Regions from separate parts of the Homo sapiens genome. Here regions 1 and 2 are each linked to region 3. Evidence: promoter capture Hi-C in 16 types of primary human blood cells and fetal thymus (Javierre and others, 2016). All regions are on one chromosome and are shown on one strand. The core of a region is centred on a gene start or on the middle of the fragment in contact, and the rest is flanking DNA. Distances in the headings are between cores, read along the strand shown.

Region 1 (3,731 bases), core at 549-3,048, 120 kb after region 3:
CTAGCTTGATATGGACAATGTGGTTTTATTTTCATAACCACTCTCATCAAAGCTGTTGGTCCAGTTGGCATTTGGTGCACATCCACACTGTCTATTGCCCCCATACATTAAACAAAAATAAAGCTGCCAGACCAAAAGTATGTTCTTCCATCCCCTTCCCTTTCTTCTCAGAGGCAGTGTGAGTCCTTATTTGACTCCTACTCCTAACTGTCGGAGAACCCTGTAGAAAGGCCTCTCTTGAGTCTTCTCTGAAAATTTCTCCCTCCGGCCCTCACATCTCCCGATAAAAACTTACATGTTCTTGGATTTTAGCAGAAGATGCCTGTGTCTTAATTTGAAGGAGTAACTTTAATAACAAAAATTCCAGACAGTGTCAGATCTTCAAGTCACATCACATAGATGCCTAACACCATTGCTAAGGAGTTTGTCCACCCCAGTTTACAAGGTGAGGATACAAGGAGTGGGGAAGGAAGGGAATATGTTCTGTATTTTGGCACACAGCCCCTTGGTTTGAAATGAATAAGGAGCAGAAAGTAGCTTGAACATAGGCTTTTCATTTGCACTCTACCTCTTTTTACAGAGAAGCTTAGCCCTCTTACAATAAAAGTCACAACGCTAAAGTTAATATAATAGAAATTTAAAAACAGAACTCATAAGAATCAACACAGAGGCTGTGAGACTGAACTTGAGTTTTTCCTGCTAGCTTTCTGGAAGCTAAGGCAAAAAGAAAAACATATAAAGCAAACTACATCTCATCAAAAAGAAGGAAGCAAACTTGTTACCCAAGGAAAACAGTACTTTCTCTGGCATTAATTTTATTGGCAATGCTCACAGGAGTGCATGTAGAGGGTATATAAAGAGTTATAGTGAACCATTTCAAGAATTTTTTTCCAGCAAACACTGAAACAGAATTAATTTGCTCCATTGGCTTGAATAGTGATAACTATAATAGAAAGGAAGTATCCATTTGTCCAGAAAGACTCAGGGTCAATGTGATTTTAGCCCTCAGAAGAATATTTTACTCTAACAAGGCATCATTGCTTCATGCATGCTTGTAATGTCTACTAGTGCCTTTTTTTCTTACCCAAGTGTTTTTTTACTATGCCCACAGTAAGCAACATGTAAACAAAGTAAAACAAAACACCTTAAAATGGAACAGAAAACCTACTTACCAGAATCCCAAATCTCTAATATATCAAATTCTTTAGTTTTTTCAAGTTTCCCTAGAGGTCTCATTCTATGTAAATATATTTTGCATAGTTCTAGTTATAACGAACACATTTTTGTGGGAGTTTGAATTTTCCACTTGATACTACATGGCAATCATTTCTGAACTTTGTTGTTAAGCTTACATGTCACTTATTTTTGCAAGGGAAACTTAGAAAGTTCTTCCAATTATTATGTGGGAAAAATGACTCCTAAAACAACACTTAACCTCTCAAAAACCACAGATTTGATTGCTATTAGCCTTAGATTTTATTTCAAGAACAGGTGTTTTATCCTGTAAATGTATTCATGGGTGGTGAGAGGATTGGTAGAAAAAGACTAAAAACAATTTGAGAAGAGTAATAACAGCATAAGAAAAGAAGTCCAGGCTGAGCGCAGTGGCTCGTGCCTATAATCTCAATACTTTGGAAGGCAGAGGCAGAAGGATGGCTTGAGCCCAGGAGTTTAAGACAAGCCAGGACAACATAGTGGGACACCTTTTCTACAAAAAAGATAAAAAAATTAGTTGGGTGTGGTGGTGCACACCTAGAGTCCCAGCTGCTCAGGAGGCTGGGGCTGGAGGATTGCTTGAGCCTAGGAGGTCAAGGGTGCAGTGAATCTTGATCATGCCACTGCTCTTCAGCCTGAGTGACAGAGCGAGGCCTCGTCTGAAAGAAAAGAAGAAGAGAAGAAGAGAAGAGAAGAAGAAAAGAGAAAGAAAAGAAAAGAAGTCGTCCAAAAGGATATTTATACCTGTGTCATGGGTTTGAACTCACTGCTGTGTCCAGCTCCAATCAGATGGTGGGCTTTGACTCCTACTTCAGCAAATTTTTCATTTTCAGTAATCCACTGGGAAAGCGCATATGCACTCTGTCGTGTTTTTGTAAAGATTATTCCTCGTGCTGATTCCTCAGTCCTAGTATATTGCTCCATTATGGTATTTCTTAATTTGGTCAGCTTTTCATTTTCATATTCTGGGTTTTCAGCCAGCCTTTTCAACATTTTATTGTTTTCTTTAAGAAATAATTAGAGTTGATATGTTAACAAGCTTGATTTAGCCACTCCACAATGTACAGATATATCAAACATTTTGTACACCAAAAATATACAGTTTTATTGATTAAAAATTAATTAATTTAAAAACTATTTGGAAGTATAAATTAGTAAAACATACAACGAATTACACTAGAAGGTTTCATGAATTGTGGCTCATCTACAATCTTGCGCTATATCTAATAATTAGGATGGTTTAATAAATAAATTCATTACAATTGTCTTGACAATAAAACTGAATGACCAAATGACTGACTGTGATCATACAACTGGTAGCTAATCTGGTCATATCATTAGAAATAGTTCCAATCTGAGTGGGATTTCTTCTTTCAAAAGATATTTCTCTTTTTGGAGAGCTTATGAGAAGCAGTAAGTTCATGTTGAAAAGGTAAATGAATGACACCAGTATATGTTACTTTGAATCTTACCAAAAAATAAAGTCATGAGAAATCTATCTGTTTCATCCAGTTTCAAAGGTTTCTTTAAATCATCCTCATCTTCATCACCATCACAATACTCATCATCACCACCCTCATCACTATCATCTTCTATGACTGCAAACTTCTTATCTTTCTCTTCATTATAGAAAGTTTCAAGATGAGTATACGCATCTATCATTCGAATTGTGTCATTAATTTGTAGGGCCTCATTGTACTTCCTCAAATGTTCTGCACAAACACGTTCTTTGCGATTTCCTTCTTTTGCAGCTGTGAAAAAATATATTATGTAAGTGAAATAATAAGCATATAAACCCCCTAAAATTGTGCCATGGACTTGAATATATGTTACTAACTGCAAAACTGGCTTCACCTTGGTTTTAAAATGGGCAAGTTAAGGCTCAAAATGTGTCCTGAGCTCTGAAACAGGGCAAGTTTTCCAACTCCTAGACTTGCTGCTTGAGTTCTGCCTCAGCAAAAACATGTAGCTGATGCACAGAGAAATGGCATGAAAATATATTAGTTGAGTTTGCCTTTGGAGACAGAGCTATTAAAGTTTATCTCAAGACTCTGGAGACAAAGAGAAAATTGGATAGCATTGGAATCTCTCTCCTTAGAAAAGGAATTAGAACATGTTTATTATGCTTGTCCTACAGAGAACACAGAAATTCTATTTGGAACTACTTTTGCTTTCCATTTTTTGGGGAATCTGTGATATAGTCATCTAAAATCTTGGTATAAACATGGGATAAACTAAGTGTTAGGTCCAAACCTAAATTACCTTTTTTTTCCATTTGAATGGCCCATTGTTCATAGGGTTGAGTTCCAAAATCTGACATTGGACTCATTTGACAATAAGTTTGAATCCTTGTCATTATTTCTAGAAGTTTCTCTTTAAATGGATCCTAAAAATAAAGTACACACTTATTCTTATGTATTCTTATTGTTAAAGGAATAACATTATCTTTGTTAGAATAATTTCTAGGTTATAATAAATCTGATTCATCTTTGTTTAGACAAAGTAACAGGTTAGTG
Region 2 (3,484 bases), core at 875-3,374, 91 kb after region 3:
ATGTAAGCTATACATAACTAAACTTGGAAAGAGGGTAGGGATTGAGATTATATGTGATCACACAAATATCTGTGTATGTGTATCTCTATACATCATTTGTAAATATGTAAATATAATGCATTTCTTATTAGAAATTATAGCTTGAATTCCATAGTGAAATTCATCCTTCCCTATGGACATGGAGGCAAGTGCCCTATAAAATTAACAAACTTTTGTTCCAAGAACATTTATTTCTGAGGGTGCAGAGTATCAATTTCAAGGTTGAGTTTCTTTAAAAATCAGGAGCTAATTTTTAATGAATTAACATTCAAAGGATCTATATGACCTAATCCACTACCTGACAATTGCTGGTATGAGGGAAATGTGGCCCCAAGACCACTGAGTTCAGAGATGAGTCTGAAAACAATTTTAACATGAAAATTTATGAAAGATATGTACACACACTACATACCTCTCAACAGCCTAAGAAGAATCTTGTGCTGGCAGAGAGCAGAAACAAAGACTGAAATTAACACTGAAGATATCAGCTGACTTCATCTTATGGGTTAACCTATTCTATTTTGTAATTCTGTGAAAATCTCATGATTATTTTTAATTTTCGAAAACATTTTTCTATGTTCTTTTTAATAGCAACAGTCCAGTCATTCAGGACTCATACATTCTTTAGCTGAAGTTATTTTATTGATCTTCATTTACTATCAGTTAACTTTTAACCAAGATATTTCCCACATTTGTTATCATAAACTTTTAGTATTTATTAGTACAAATTTTTCCCCTTTCCTAGACACAAAGACATAAGACCTGTTATTACTGGATTTTTTTTCCATTTCAGAAGCTTGAGTTTCTCTTCATAAATATTTTCATAAAAAGCTATTTCCCTAATATCACTAGATTATCTATCAACATAGTCCTACTTTATATTTAAACTAGCTCTGATATCAGCCCATAGTACCTTCCAATTTTTAGCAAAGTGAGATCAGTGTCAATCTAAGCCTTTTTTGTAAAAGGATCCAATTTATGACTGATCAAAATGCTTGCTTAACAATGTTTGGTTTTCTAATTTGATGTGCAGTGCTACTACATCTAAAACAACAACTTTGCTTTTTCTATACAGCTATTCCTGAGATCTGTATTCTCAACTTCCTCCCTAAATTTTTGGAAAGACTATTTAGTAATAAAAAAAGTCCATAGATTCTGTTTTAACTTTTCCATTCTTACTCATTTTTACTTTCCACGAGACAAACCTAATAATGAAAAGCAATGTTAGTTAAAAATGTTGTTTCTAAAGGCCTGTCAAAGCTTGTATTTAGCATATATTTTTGGGGGTTGTGGGGGTGATGCAGCATAGTTCTTAGGTTTTTCTATTGCTGAAATAACACTGTAAATCTCTTCCTACCCATGCCTTAAATTCCTCAGTATTTCTGGTCTTGCACAACAACATATCTGTGAGCTTATATGTCTTCTTAGAAATAACAGACTTACTTTGGAACATAAGCACTTAGGAAATGTTCAACCACTTGTGATCTTGCATTAGTACATTTTCCAAGCTATTCTAGGCAGATAGAGCAAATCAGAGAAAGTTCTTACCTCTTGAAGGGCGTAAGACAATGCACATCACCAATAAGGCAAGCACAGCAGAGGTGGCAACTCCAAATACGATTTTTACCCAAGTCTACATAAAATAAAGAGAATTAGGCATACACACAGTTCCTGCTAAATAGTAGAAATGGCAAGATTTTGTTTACACCTAAATCCTTTTTCTCTCGCCCCACAAAGCTTTTGATTGTTTTCCACTGATCCGGCTATAATTGCTGGAATTCTTCCAGCTCTGCAAGGACAAATGTTTCTACAGTATATTTAGAACAATTTTCCAATCCCAACCCATTGAGGAAGTAAATACTTATGTACAAATCTTCACCTTCTAAACAATAGAAAACTCTGATCACGTTCAATCCAGCCAACCCTAATTTTTTAAGAATACTTGAGGTTGCTTATACTAACCTTCATTTTTCCAGATGTTTTTGAAAGTTAGCTAATTCTGTCTTCAGAGCGTGGGTCACTGGATCTGTGAAAACCGTTGAAAAGGACCAAGTCTGTCTTTGTAGTTGGAAGCTGAAGCCAGGACAAGGTTTTTTTCTTTCCACGGACTTTTGAATACCGTGCCAAGTTTCAAAAGATTTCTGTAAAATTAGAAACAGATTTTGGGGGCGTTCTTGGCCCTCAAATGAACTGTGAGTGACTCAAGGGAAGTTTTATAGCCTTCTCATCCTTGTAACTACACCAACATCTGCTTACGTTGACATACAGAGGTTTTTATTTTTTCTTTTTTACCAGTTCAGGTTTATGTTGCATTTTCTTCTAGAATTCACTGAAGGATCACTTTAGCAAGTCATTGGGTTTTGCATAACATTTTTATTTGCCACTAAAAGATGAATTTAAAATAATGAAACTTGCAGGTCTGTACATTAAACATATATCTACTTTTTAACAGAGGAAGAACATTGAAGCCACATAAGATTTTGTGAGAAATGTGCCATATAACTGCACTTTTTTTTCCTCTGGAAGATTATGAGGTATTGCAGACAGAAATGTTTTTCTTTCAGCACAATTTCTTTGTCCATATAGCACCATATGCACTTTCAGTAAATACAGAAGTTTAAAAATTCAACTGTCTAAACCCACGGCTGCTTTACTTTAAAGAAATAAAATGCCATCTGGTGAAATTTAGTATGGGTTAGGTGTGTATGCACAGGCTAGAAAGATGGAAAGATCAGTAAGAATAATTTACCAGCAGACCTTTGGAAGAATGGAAATGGCTTTACAAGAGTGGTATTTTTGCTTTCCTCTCAGAATATCTTCTGAGAGAGGAGAACATCTAGTAATTATAAAGATTTAAAAATAAATAAAAAAGCATCTGAAAAGAAAAGTAAATCTTATGTATAATTTCATTTTGGCTAAATCTACATAATTCCAAAGAAATTGGTCATCTTGACAGATTAGTAAAATGGTTGACTGAATTAAAAAAAATACACATACAACAGTTTCTTGGAGTGTTCTGTCTGTTTTAATGCAATTCACTTGGATAGATTTTGTGGTTCCACGTAAACACAGTTGTTAAATCTACTGTGTCCTTAATTTTTCCACTAATGGTTTTCTTTTTTCGAAGTTTATAATGTTCCCAACCTGATTAAAACACTTCATGGCAACCTTTCTTGGATTGTACATGAAAGGTAATGGGGAAATGTTACCAAAACATGTTGCTGTTTGCCTTAGTCAACTTCTCTGGCTACCACGGGACACTTTCTCCAGCAAAGAGCAGGACAGTGGCTTGTGAACTTCCTTTCAGACATTCTCCAGACATCCCTCCCTGAATTCCAGCCTTATGAAAATTCTGTTGAGGAAAATGAGTCATTAGGCACTTACTGGCAGAGAACTGTATTCCTGGTGGCTGGGGCTGGGCCCTCTCCTTTGCTGTTGGTGGAGT
Region 3 (3,238 bases), core at 27-2,526:
AAAAATCTCACTTATTTGTTTGTGAAAGTCTATCGAATTGTGAAAAAAAAAAGAATAGAGTTAATTGTTTGAATACAATTGCTGAGAAAGTAGAGATTTATGTTATTTTAGTATTAAAATCTTATTCAATAAGAAAATAATTTCCAGTTAATTTCCCCCCTCTTTAGGTAGTCTAAAGAGAGCCTGCAGTTTTGTAAGAACTACAAATTTCCACTAAAATTTAAAGGAAAGTATGGTAACAATAATAAGTAGGAAGTCTTACAGAAAGATTAACCTTAGACCTAAAAAAGAAGACATTATGTTCTATCCCCAAATGTGTTGGCATTGTAGTCCATATAAATCCTTTTTCAAACTGGTTAGCTCATTTTATGTAATAGGTCTTCAGTATGTATGGAAAAATACACCACTTAATCATTTACTCCATCAAAGATCTTTGTAAATTTGTTTTTTGTCTCTAGGAGCCTAATCTAAAAAGACAAATTAAAATTTTATTGCAGAGGGTAGCTATTTTAGATTTTATTACTATTTATCCTCAATACATAGTAAATAGTTATTAATGTATGGCTTCACTCAGATGCATCCAAAGAAAACCCCCCAAATAGATGACACTTGTTCTCTGCACCAAGTACGCTATGTTTTATTTACAAAGAGTTGCTTTAATGGACTTTGATTTTTTGATAGATGTCTGAAATTTGAATATTTGAAAGATGTTATTTAATTTGCTCTTTTGGAAAACCAGAGATTTTAATTGGTAAAAAGCAATTTCTGTTATAGGCTCCCTAATGGACACATTTCTGCTTACTTTAAAAGACGCCTTCTGTTCAAAGTAGTATACAGATCTATCAAGTCCAAGAAAAATATTTATTCTTCAAAATGTTACCAATTATTTTAAAATACAACTCTCATAACAGTTAAGTATTATAACAAGTGCATTGATTTGAATCTTTGTTTTTTTTCTGTTTTATATTTTTGCATATAATTATTTTTCCAACTCGCTTTGCGGCTTCGCTATATTAAAGTACACGTAAATGCATTTGATATAACCTTTTCCATCTCAGTTCCTCTCTGTGTACTATTAGTAATAAAGTCTAAGATGAAAGAACAACATTTTAATTTATAATATTTTGATCCCTTAAAAATACTTCACTGTCCGCCAAACAGGATTTACAATTTTATAATCATCTTACCTTCTGGTAGTGTGCTGTAGAACAGAGCAGGTGAAGAGAGAGCAAGCCCTCTTTGGGAACTTTTGATGTGCTCTGTGTCCTAAGCTCTGTACTTCTGCACCAAGGCGCACTGCTTTTATATACTCTCCAGCTCTGTTTAGCCTCACAGATATTACGCTGACAATATAAATTTCTCATCTGTAAATAATGAGTTTTTGTTACAAATGACTTCCCTCTCCCACTCACTTTGCTCATCTGCATTCTATGCTTATATTGGGTGAGAGACCTTAGAGACCTGGAAACTTTTTATGCACTCTTGTATCTTTTTTTTTTTTTTTTGGTTGGGAATGGAGAGAGCAGCTTGGAAATCCACCTTCTACTTTCAATCACGCATGAAAATCACTTAAGTTCTCTAAAGTGAATTTTGACGTTGAAGACAAAAGACCTTGAAATTACGTAGCCCATGGCCATCCCTGTTTTGTGCATGTCCTCATTTGAGGTTCTTACAAGTCTTTGGTTTGCTACCTAGCCATGATGAATTTACCTGAATATAACAATCACTTCAGTCATTCATTTATCTAAATAATGATCATTCATTCAACACATATGTATTAAAAATCCTCTCTTCCTCACAACGTGGAGTTTATTTATGTTATGTTTGTGGAAAATTTAAGGATATTGATTAAACCCCTATGTGTTCTGTTTTAATAAATGGAATTCAGGCAGAAAGGATGGAGCAAAATGAAGATTAAACATCCAAGATAGCTGATGCTAACAGGAAATTATCTGGTATTTTTTTCCTTCTAATATATATTTAAAATCTAATTTTACTGATAAGAGAGTGGGGTACTAAGTTACAAAAGAATGAGATATGAGGAAAACTGTTGAGATGAGATGCATATTTTCACGTTTCCTGAGTTTTGTGACTGGACACACAGGCTTTAATGATCTGTGACATTTAGCAGAAATGATTCTGGTCACTGTAGAGAAATAGAAAAATGGTAAATAATCTGGAAAGACAGCATAAGAAGTAGTGTTGGCATAATTTGATTTTAGTTTTGCTGTTATTGACCAGCTGTGTGACCTTGGTCAAGTCACGCATTCTCTTTGTGTCTCTGCCTCCTTATTTGTAAAATGAGAGGGGTTGGTAAATGTCTTTTCTAAAATAAAAATTTTATTCCATATTGCAAACTCATCACAACATTTCCTAACTAGATTCCAATATTCTAATATAACCAACCGCATGATGTCACTGATGACTTGTATGGAGGTAAATCATTGAGGCAACTGGAGAAATATTCCAAATGAACTTAACTGTTCAATTTGTGCATGAGACCAACGTTTGAATGTAGAGCTACTTGAAGGCCACAGAGATCACTTTCAAGTCAGACTGGAAGACATCATTGAGGGGTTTTTGTGCTGGTGATTATTGGGTGCTAGAAAGCCTTGCTTTGCAAAGTGTGGTCTAAGGACCAGCATCATCTGGGAGCTTGCTAGAAATGCAGAATCTCGTGCCTATCAGAATCTGTATTTTAACAAAATCCTAAGGAAATCTGTGTTCATATTAAAATTTGAGAAGCACAGCTGCATAAAATATCTGCCTCACTTTATCTCCTCATTGGTACTGCTGGTGTCTTGATCTGAGACCTGCTTCTTGGCACTCTACCAGCAGAGGGGGTGAAAGAGCAGAGAAAGGTGTCAAGCCTTAGGTCGGTCTAGAGAGTAATACTTATAAATACGGTAATAGCTTGAAAGAGTGGATTGATTTAATGTATGATTACATTGTCTTTCTCTCTGGCTACAATCTTCACACAACTATTCGCTATATTTTTAATCGTTTTGGCAGATTCAGTTCTACTTTTCCCATTGTCTATTTGTCTATTTGAGCAGATGTTTCTTTCTGTCTCTCTGTCTCTGTCTCTCTCTTTCCTTTTCAGACTCTACTTGTTTGTGGAGCAGCCCTAAGAAGGAAGATCTGCAGATCATATATATAAAATCTTCAACATAGCACTGGCCTTTCAGTAATTATCCTCTCCCAATATTTAACTACCAAACATTTTTCTTTCCCTCCA

Evidence for each region. Contacts are between HindIII fragments. The CHiCAGO score rates a contact against its expected background, and 5 or more counts as called.
Region 1: a fragment that was not itself captured here is called in contact with the fragment with the promoter of GCG in region 3 in 1 of 17 cell types (megakaryocytes); the score reaches 6.1 in megakaryocytes.
Region 2: a contact is called between the fragment with the promoter of FAP here and the fragment with the promoter of GCG in region 3, in 1 of 17 cell types (megakaryocytes). The highest score is 5.1, in megakaryocytes.

The regions. Positions count from the first base shown.
Region 1 is chr2:162,274,728-162,278,458 of GRCh38, forward strand. IFIH1 (interferon induced with helicase C domain 1) reads right to left here. Exons shown (of 16, transcript NM_022168.4): 9 at 3,478-3,601; 10 at 2,688-2,966; 11 at 1,960-2,219. Among named protein-coding and RNA genes, the nearest start is that of FAP, 33 kb to the left of the region's middle. The HindIII fragment of the contact is 907 bases long and covers 1,346-2,252 here.
Region 2 is chr2:162,241,321-162,244,804 of GRCh38, forward strand. FAP (fibroblast activation protein alpha) reads right to left here and starts at 2,125. Exons shown (of 26, transcript NM_004460.5): 1 at 2,002-2,125; 2 at 1,588-1,672. The coding sequence starts at 2,007. The HindIII fragment of the contact is 18,804 bases long and covers 1,775-3,484 here.
Region 3 is chr2:162,150,971-162,154,208 of GRCh38, forward strand. GCG (glucagon) reads right to left here and starts at 1,277. Exons shown (of 6, transcript NM_002054.5): 1 at 1,188-1,277. All of the region lies in intron 1 of LOC101929532 (a long non-coding RNA gene), which reads left to right. RefSeq lists a promoter at 1,165-2,886. The HindIII fragment of the contact is 4,864 bases long and covers 1-3,238 here.